3 separate regions of the Homo sapiens genome follow, and regions 2 and 3 are each linked to region 1. The links are contacts of gene promoters, found by promoter capture Hi-C in human tissues and cell types (Jung and others, 2019). All regions are on one chromosome and are shown on one strand. Each heading gives the region's core, a stretch centred on a gene start or on the middle of the fragment in contact. The rest is flanking DNA. Distances are from core to core; before and after follow the strand shown.

Region 1 (3,079 bases), core at 423-2,922:
TGCGAAGCCCCCGCCAGCTTTGGGTCAGGCCATCTCCCAGGCAGATCTCCCAGGCACCTGCCGCCTTCCGCCACAGTCTCCTCACTGAAGCAGAAGTGAGAGAGGTGACAGCAAGGTAGAGAGATGGGCGTTTGCAAAGCCAATTATTGCTAAGTAAAGAGTCAAAGCAAGCACGGGTCTGAAAGCCTGAGAAGAGGGCAAAGCGGGCGAGCGGCGGGCAATCGGAGCGGGGACGAGTCGAGTCATGTCAAGCTTCTCCCTAGGGGAGCGCTCACCCGGAAAGGCTTCCAGCCGACAGGGGTTGGGGGGCACTGGCGGTCTCCAAAGGGGAGGGCTGGCCAGGAGCTGCTCCATCCTCCCTCGACCCAGCCCCGGCCGGCGTGGAAGCTGCACGTGGTGCCCGGGCCAGAGCTGGGGAGGGGAGCCCCACAGCGGCAGCGGCTCCCCGGGCATTGCTAGGTTACCGACGTGTGCACAGCCGGCGACGGGAGCGGGAACGCACGCTCCACCCGAACCCCTTTCCCCGATACCGAGGCCGGGCCTCCCCCGCGAGGGGATGGGTGTGCTTCACCCACCGGCGCGGAGGGCGAAACCGGGCAATCCTAGAATTTTCCGGATGCCACCAGGGACCTTCTTCCTAGTCAACGAGGGGGCGGGGGAGGAGTGGAAGGCGAGAAGAGGCTGGCAAGGGGGCTCCGGCTGAAGACTTGCGGCCCTCCTGCCATCGCTCGGGGGCGTTGAAGGAAAGTTGAGCCCGAGGACACTGAACCCGAATCACCCCGACTCGCCGCCCCTCCGGCTGCACCGCGCTCCACACACTCCACGGCCGCCCCCACCCCACAAATGCAGAATTAACTCTGACATTCAGGGCCTGGAGGGGAGCGCGGAGTGGCTGTCACGCATGTCCCCTCTCTGTGTAGACGACACCGAGCTGGCAGCACCCTCTCCAACCCCCTCAACCCATCCAGCGCCGCGGGGAAGGGGGAGGGGGCTGGAGGACCATGACAGGATCGGATTTGGCAGCGGGTGCCCGGGCTCTGGCTGCTCACCGTTCGCGTGGTCCGCTTGCTGCTGCCGTTGATGCTGCATTTTTTTCATCATCATCATCATCATCATCCACGAACATTTATTGAGCGACTACTGTGTGCAGGGCACTGTGCTGGGCGTTGAGGCGGGGGCGGAATGGGGAAGGGGATCACCAAGAGGTAGGAGCCGCGGTCCCTGCCCTTATTCTCGCTTCAGCAGGGGGGTGGGGAGGGACGGGGACAAATAACAGAAAATAAGGATAATTGATTTAAAAAAAAAACCGCTCGCCACCCAAGCTCTCTCTTTTTCAAAAATGGAGCAAAATAAACTTTTTAAAAAAATAAAATCCAATGTATATATTATCTTAATAATATATACATGTAATTTTTTGCTGCAAAGGAGAACTGGCTTGTCCCCTCCTCTAGCGGAGAGACGCCGCGGTGATGCCGGCCCGGCCGCCGGGGCCGCTCGGCGCTCCCCCCATGCCCGCCCGTCTGCCCGCCCGCCGCGGTGCCCGGTGCCCGCCGCCGCCGCCCGCGCCGCCGCTGGCTCGGGACCGCGGGCAGCCGGAGCTCACATCCGGGGACGGAGGCGCTCGCCCGCCCGCTCGCTCCGCGCCCGCCGCGCCGCGCCGCACGCCGGCTTCGCCCTGGCGACGCTGCGCGCCCGCCGCCGTCCCCCGCCCTCCGCCCGCCCCGAGCCGCCCACGGCCCGCGCCGCGCCGCGCCCCGGCGGGTCTGCAGCCCGGCGCGCGGTTCTGCCCGGCACCACTTGCGCGCTCGGGGTGGCCGTCGCGTGGGACTCGGGGTGCCGCCACCCCAGCCTGGCCCGGCTGACCTGCGGGCTCCAAAGGGTTAAGCGCGCTCCAGCGGCGGGCTGCCCGGTTAACCCCCTCCGCGCCGCACGGTGCGCTCTCCCCCCGGGACCCGGAGGAGGCAGGCGGCGCCAGTGTCTCCCGCGGCGCTGGGGTGCGGATGAACCGCTCCTCCCCGCGCATTTCTGGGCTGGGGGACAGCTCGGGCTCCCGCGCCGGCCCCGACTCCGCGCCGGCCTCCTCTGCGCACACCTGGAGGAGGCCCCGCCCCCTGGGAGCTCAGGTGCTAGCGGGCGGTAGCTGCTGCGGTCTCCGAGCTCATCCTCGTCAAGGCTCGGCCGGGCTCCCTGGCTGCTCCGGAGCGGGGCAGGCGCCCCCTGCTTTTCTCCGGCCCTTTCTGGAATCGGGGGGGTTGGGGTAGCCCGGGTCTGTAGAGAGCACTCACTACCCCAGGTAACTGCCTGCAGCTGGAACCGCGAATCCAGGGCGCCCCCCATCTTCTCCCCTGCCCTGCGCCTGGCCTGGCGTCGCGGAAGGCAACGGGGATGGGGGGCAATATCTCCCCCCACCCCACCCCGCCCCCACGTGTGTTTGGAGGCAGGTACAGGGAAGTCAAAGCCAAGGTCTTTCAAACCGCTCGTGTTGTTCAAGGAAATAGACGGTGCTGCTGAAACTGTTGCCTCCAGTCTGGGAGCTGAAGGGAGTAGTTTATTTTTTGATACCTTCGCTGGCTTGGATTTAGGGTGGGGGAGATTTGCAAACGGCAGCTCCTGTCTAAAGGGGAAAATACTTTATCTAGTGGATGACTGATATTTTTCATTTAGCTTTGTGCTGCCTGTTAGGAGAAGGGCGTCTGCTTTGTTACTTCACAGGATTCGATTTATTTGCTTTTGTTCCTATCTGCATGTTCCTACGGCGTTTTAGAACGTTTCAGAACAGTGACTTTAAAGCGAAAATAAAGTAAAAGCTCAGCGTGAATTAAGAAAAATAAGTGTTTATGGGAAGGTGCTCCTTACCCAAAGAGAACACACTAGTCATCCTCAATTGTTGGGGGGCACCTGGGCAGAGAGACTGGGGACCAGACAGAAGACTCTCCAGAGGCCTTCCTGAGGGGGTGTCTGGTCCGTGAGGATGAAAACAACCAGGCTCTTGTCCTTTTTTGTGCTTTGTTTTTGGAGACTGGAGAGGCGAGAAATCGCCCTACGGTCTAGTAACAATATAAAGCTGGCCTGGGCCACC
Region 2 (3,079 bases), core at 250-2,749, 46 kb after region 1:
TGAATCATTAGCTCAATCATAAATTCCTTAAGGCCACATGTCTCACATAATGCCTTACAGAATAAAATGCTCAGTAAATGCATATGAGAAATGAAGGGTAGAAATGCATAATTGTGTAGTCAGTATCAGTTTGTGAGTGTTTGTGAGTGTGGAACAGCAAATATAAATACTTATCCTCTCCATTTCCAATGGAAATTGGGGGTGGGGCAGGGAGGAGAGAAAGAACACAAAGAATAAGAGCAAGGAAAACAGATAAGGACACATACCCTCATTTAACTTTTGCTCATCATCCTAACTCTTGCTTTGCCCAAAGGCTAGATGTACCCTCCTAGAAGCTATACAGTTTCTGTCCCTGTGAATCGAGTAAATGAATGCAGGCTAAGCACAAAGGTTCACGGTGATGCTTATCTCCTGAGCCATGACATTTCCCAACATCCATTTTATGTAGTGAAGGGGTTAGGTACAAAAACTGACATCTTCACTAAGGAAATCATTTTTCCCTAAATAAAATGCTTTCAGTATCAATAACTAATATTAGAGCACAGGCCATGTGCATGCTCTAAAATGTCTTACATACTGAGGAATTTTCTATGAAATGAACACACTGGTTTTATGTGGAGTGAACACTTACGCACTTTTCCAAACTTGGTCAAGAGTAGTTCTTTTTTTAAAAGCTTGGCAGACTATTGGGAAAAGCTGTTCTTTTAAAGTACATTCAAAGATTATTTTGGAAAGCTGGAAAGCGAAGGCTTATAAGTTTACCAAACAGTCTGAAGGAAAGGTAATTGGTTTCCTTGAAAAGGAGTATGACTGCTTTATTCCCTTTCATGCCTATCCATAGGAGAAAAGGGTACCTCAGAAAGGAAACCAATGCTTTCTTTTAAACTAATTTATAAACCATAATTTGGTATGATTTGGTACTTCTGGTTTATACAACACTCACTTTGTGTACCTTTTAGGAATCTTTTTAAATGGTTGAAAATAAATTAAATGGCACCCTAATTTAGTTGTGCCTTTAAAAAGCTTTCTTACAATAAAAGTAATATGTACTTATCTTGTTTTATCATTTAATATATTTAATAGATTGTGAACACTTTCTCATGTCATTAAACAGTCAAAAAGTACCTTTTTTAACTTTTAAAAAATACCTTTAAAAATATCTTTTAATGTCTATATTAGGCCGGGCGCAGTGGCTCACGCCTGTAATCCCAGCACTTTGGGAGGCCGAGGCAGGCGGATCACGAGGTCAGGAGATCAAGACCATCCTGGCTAACAGGGTGAAACCCCGTCTCTACTAATAATACAAAAAATTAGCCGGGCGTGGTGGTGGGCACCTGTAGTCTCAGCTACTCGGGAGGCTGAGGCAGGAGAATGGTGTGAACCCGGGAAGTGGAGCTTGCAGTGAGCCGAGATTATGCCACTGCACTCCAGCCTGGGGGACAGAGCGAGACTCCGTCGCAAAAAAAAAAAAAAAAAGTCTATATTAATATATCAATGAGTATATCATATTTTATTTTGCCATGGCTTCACTAATTTAGACCATATGTCTAGTAACAATGAACACAATTGCACATTTATTAGCCCAAGTTTCTGGTTATTCCTTAAGACATAGTCATAGAGCGGCAATTACAGGGCCAAAAGGTATGAACTATCAGAATCATTGACTGTAGATGGTACCTCTCACCTCGTCCTCCTCCAATCCTATTTAACACTTGAGTTGTCTAGAAGCCTTTTCCTAATGTTCCCCATTAGTACAGAATTAAGCTTCCTCTGATAAGACTTTCCATTTGTCATCAATATTGTTACACTTTAAGCTTATCCCCAAAGAGAGGTTACACATCTGGATGAATTTTTTTTTTTTTTTTTTTTGGATTTTCAGTATCAACATGGCATTCTTTTCCTCTCAAAACTCTCTCCAAGATGAGGAAGAAAACAAAGAGAAACTCCATATAAAGTCAGAAAATGGATAGAGAAAGGATAAATGACTTAACAGAACAGAGAAAGGTTAAACCTGAGCACACACAAAAGAAGATATCAGTGAAAGAAAAGCTAATTCATCCTCAAGAATTCTAGAAGAATCAGCCAGGCATGGTGGGACATGCCTGTAATCCCAGATACTTGAGAGGCTGAGGCAGGAGGATAGATTCAGCCCAGGAATATGAGGCTGTGGTGAGCTATGATCACACCACTGCACTCCAGCCTGGACAACAGAGCAAAACCCTGTCTCTCCAAAAAACAACAAAAAAAAATCTGGAAGAATCAAACCAAGAAATGTAAGTACCAGACGGATGCCAGTGGCAGCAGGTAAGTCCCCCAGGATCCGAACCCCTGGCATATTCAACTGACTCCCCTTCTCACAGGAGACAGAAATTGAATCAGAAAAGACCAAATCAGAGGACAATAAGCCTAGGGACTAGAGAGTTGTTGAGGAAAAGAACTGAAAACTGGGAGATAAGGGAAAATCTGCAGACTGAATATGAGAACCTCAGTCCTTTCCACTGCATAGCTATAAGATGATGGCAGTTGGCTTCTTAGACACCTCAAGTGGGAGATTGCATGAATGGGCTGTAATATGGATGTAATGTGGATGAATAGACTGGAGAATATTCTGTAAGTTTCTTTCTTGGAGAAACTGAATGGCAGATGGGCAAAGACCTAAAGATGCTGATATTTGGGGATCTCAAACAAAAAAAGCCAACCATCCACCAATCCAGTTGTCCTGTTGTTAAGCCTATCAGAGAACAAGTCCTGCACATACACATTCATTCATTTAAAATATATTTATGGACCGGGCATGGTGGCTCACACCTGTAATCCCAGCACTTTGGCAGGCCAAGGCAGGCAGATCACGTGAAGTCAGGAGTACAAGACCAGCTTAGCCAACGTGGCAAAACCCCGTCTCCACTAAAATACAAAAATTAGCTGGGTGTGCTGGCCTGTGCCTGGAATCCCAGCTACTTGGGAGGCTGAGGCAGAAGAATCGCTTGAACCTGGGAGGCAGAGGTTGCAGTGAGCTGAGATCACCCCACTGCACTCCAGCCTGGGCCACAGAACGAGACTTTGTCTCAAAAAAAAAAAA
Region 3 (3,079 bases), core at 305-2,804, 33 kb before region 1:
AGCAACTGGTACCACACTATTTCTCACATTATGAGTCCAGCACAACCCAGACACCAAAGCCAGACAGGGACATTACAAAGAAAATGTACAGACCCAATATCCCTCAAGAACATACATGTAAAAAGCCTATGCTAAAATACTAGAAAATCAAATCCCTCAATATATAAAAAGGATAATATATCAGGACCAAGTGAGGTGCGTCCTGGGAATGCAAAATTGGTTTAACATGCAAAATTCAATGGAATTTACCACAATAAAATAAAGGAGAAAAACCATATGATTATCTCAATACATGTAGAAAAGACATTTGACAAAATTCAACATCCTTTCATAATAAAAACTCTCAGGAAAATAGAAACAGAAGGAAACTTCCTCAACCAATAAAGGACACCTATGCAGAACCTCCAACTAACACTGTACTCAGTGATGAAAGAATAAACACTTTCTGAGTTCAAGAAGAAGGCAAGAATGTCTACACTCTTACCATTTCTATTCTATACCATATGGAAGGTCTTAGCCAATGTTACAAGGCAAGAAAAATACATACATACATATATACATAAATAAGTATTAGAATGGAAGAAACAAAACTATCTTTATTCACAAAATAATTGTGTTCATAGAAAATTCTAAAGAATCTTCAAAAACTACTGGAAGTAATAAGTAAATGTGACAAGGCGGCATGTACAAGGCAACATATACAAAAATCAAGCATGTTTCCATATACTAGTAATAAACAACTAGAAGATTCTTTTTAAAATTCTATGTGCAATAAAATCAAAAATAATATAAAAATTAGGGATAAATAAAATACATGTAAGACCTCTATACTAATAACATTGCTGAGAAAAATTAGAGAAGATCTAAAGAGATACATCACACTCAGTGATTAGAAGACTCAATGTTCTTAAGCTATCCTTCTCCCCAAATTGACCTATAGATTCGACGTCATCTCAATCAAAACCCCAGAAGGCTGTTTTATAGAAATTGACAAGTTAATTCTAAAATTTAGATAGAAATGCAAAGGACCTAGAATAGCCAATACAATCTTGTAGTGAGGGGTGGAGAACAAAAATGGAAGAACTTATATAATCCAATGTTTAGACTTAAAACAAAGCATCAGTAATAATAACAGTACAGAGATAGCATAAAGACAAATGTGTCAATGGAACAGAACAGAGACCCTAGAAACAGAACCAAATTTATGTGATCCATTGATTTTCAATAAAGGTACCAAAGCAATTAAATGAGGACAGGAAAGCATTTTCAACATATGTTGCTGGAGCAACTGGATACCCACAAGGGAGGTGGCTGGAATTAACCTCTTAACCCCAACCTCATACCATAGAAAAGAAATTAATTTGAAATGGACCACAGACCTAAATGCAAAAGCTAACATCATATAAAGCTTCTACAAGAAAAAAGGTAAGAAAACATGTTTGCAATCTTTCTTAGGACCCAGGTAATATTAACCATAAAAGAAAAATCAAAATTTGACTTCAATATTAAAAGTAATAAACTAGATTTCTCTCCAACATTCTATAACTCAAACTCAAGTCTTTCCTTTTAATTGGTATGACTTAGTATTATCTAGCTGGGTATATTTCAGAATGATTCCAGAAGTTCTAATGAGAGCCTACACTCATGGACAGATCATGTACAATGCTTTTGACTAATCTGGTCTACATTTTCAAATGTCTTGAAATAGAATGCTATCCAAAAGACCTATAAAAATACTAATAATACTCTAACAATAGTCTATTGGCTACTGGGCACACTCCATTTATCTCAAATAATTAATGCCATAATTATCATCCAGTACTGTAAATACTACCAGCGCACAAAGCTTTATGGAGGGGCATGGATAGGAAGAAATGGGCCACATGTTAACAGACCAAGAACTGAGGGTCTAGCTGTCATACACAGCAGCCCAACCTCCCTGAGAAGTCTTTACCTTTTCCAAGATCAACGACTTAAACCTCAGCTAGGTAAGCTTTTTAGGTTCTAATTGGAATGCTACTGACCATAACTTTGAAATGTTGTAAACTTGACTTAATGCTATTTCATGCAACACAAACTAAGGTCATTTCCTTTAATAGCAGGAAAGGTTTGAGAATACAATCCTAATAAATCAAGCCAATGAACAAAGGGAAAAGGTGATCTTATTTTTCACTATATGAACTCAAGGCTTCTTATTTTGATGAACTACCCAATACAGTTCTCCAGTCAAAGCCATCAGAAAGGCAAATCCACACTGGAGTAGAAGAATGCTCCAACAGACATGGGATATCTGAGAAGATTCTGGCAATAGGCCTTGCCCTGCAACCTTCCAGCCACTATGCCCTTGGGTAAGTCATTTGATCTCTCTAAGCCCTAAGTTTTCTGATCTATAAAACAGGAATTGTGATACCTGCTTTGTTTCATCATAGATTGTTCTAGGATTGAATGAGAGAATGGACACGAAAGTACTTGGTGAATTATGAAGTACTATACATTCTGTGAGGGCTATAATGTTTGAGAGCTTTCTAACACGTTACCCTCAATGAAGATGCAGTTCTCAAAATCCAAGTGTGGGTGGGCAGTGGAGGAAAGATTTTCCTAGATTTATAGAATGTGAACATTAAAACTTTAAAGAGCTTATCTGGCAATACGCCCTGCTCATTTGACAAATTAGGAGATAATAACAATAGCTGCTTCTTATGCACGATGTACTATGTTCCAGGTGCCATGCCTTACTCAAATCACTTCATTTATTTCTCATAGCAACTCTGAGGGGATACTATTTTACAGATGAGGAATCCAGGCTTGGTGACAAAGTGAAGATGTACAACCGGGGGGAGAAAAGTTGGTACAATTCTCCACTCTTCTATACAAAACCTCAGAAAGATTAAGAATGTTTATCTGTGTAACGTAGCCAATTGGAGGGCGTGCCATTGCACCAGCTGTCCTTATTCACTATGTGTTTGAAAAACCTCGAACAGTAATCACCATTAAGGTTAGGGTCAAGGTCCGAATGCTTACCTGAAATAAGTTTTCCACCCCACCTCTAGGAAGGACAATGTTCTCAGGGAAGACAAGA

Evidence for each region. Contacts are between HindIII fragments. The study calls those that stand out against the background at their distance.
Region 2: a contact is called between a fragment that was not itself captured here and the fragment with the promoter of CACNA1D in region 1, in 1 of the 25 tissues and cell types used here (hippocampus).
Region 3: a contact is called between a fragment that was not itself captured here and the fragment with the promoter of CACNA1D in region 1, in 1 of the 25 tissues and cell types used here (spleen).

The regions. Positions count from the first base shown.
Region 1 is chr3:53,493,204-53,496,282 of GRCh38, reverse strand. It overlaps CACNA1D (calcium voltage-gated channel subunit alpha1 D), which reads right to left and starts at 1,672. Exons shown (of 48, transcript NM_001128840.3): 1 at 1,050-1,672. The coding sequence starts at 1,116. RefSeq lists enhancers at 1-607, 608-1,393, 1,724-2,223. The HindIII fragment of the contact is 18,707 bases long and covers 1-3,079 here.
Region 2 is chr3:53,447,322-53,450,400 of GRCh38, reverse strand. No RefSeq gene overlaps it. Among named protein-coding and RNA genes, the nearest start is that of CACNA1D, 46 kb to the left of the region's middle. The HindIII fragment of the contact is 3,106 bases long and covers 1-3,052 here.
Region 3 is chr3:53,526,467-53,529,545 of GRCh38, reverse strand. All of the region lies in intron 3 of CACNA1D (calcium voltage-gated channel subunit alpha1 D), which reads right to left. Among named protein-coding and RNA genes, the nearest start is that of CACNA1D, 33 kb to the right of the region's middle. RefSeq lists an enhancer at 2,517-3,079. The HindIII fragment of the contact is 4,025 bases long and covers 1-3,079 here.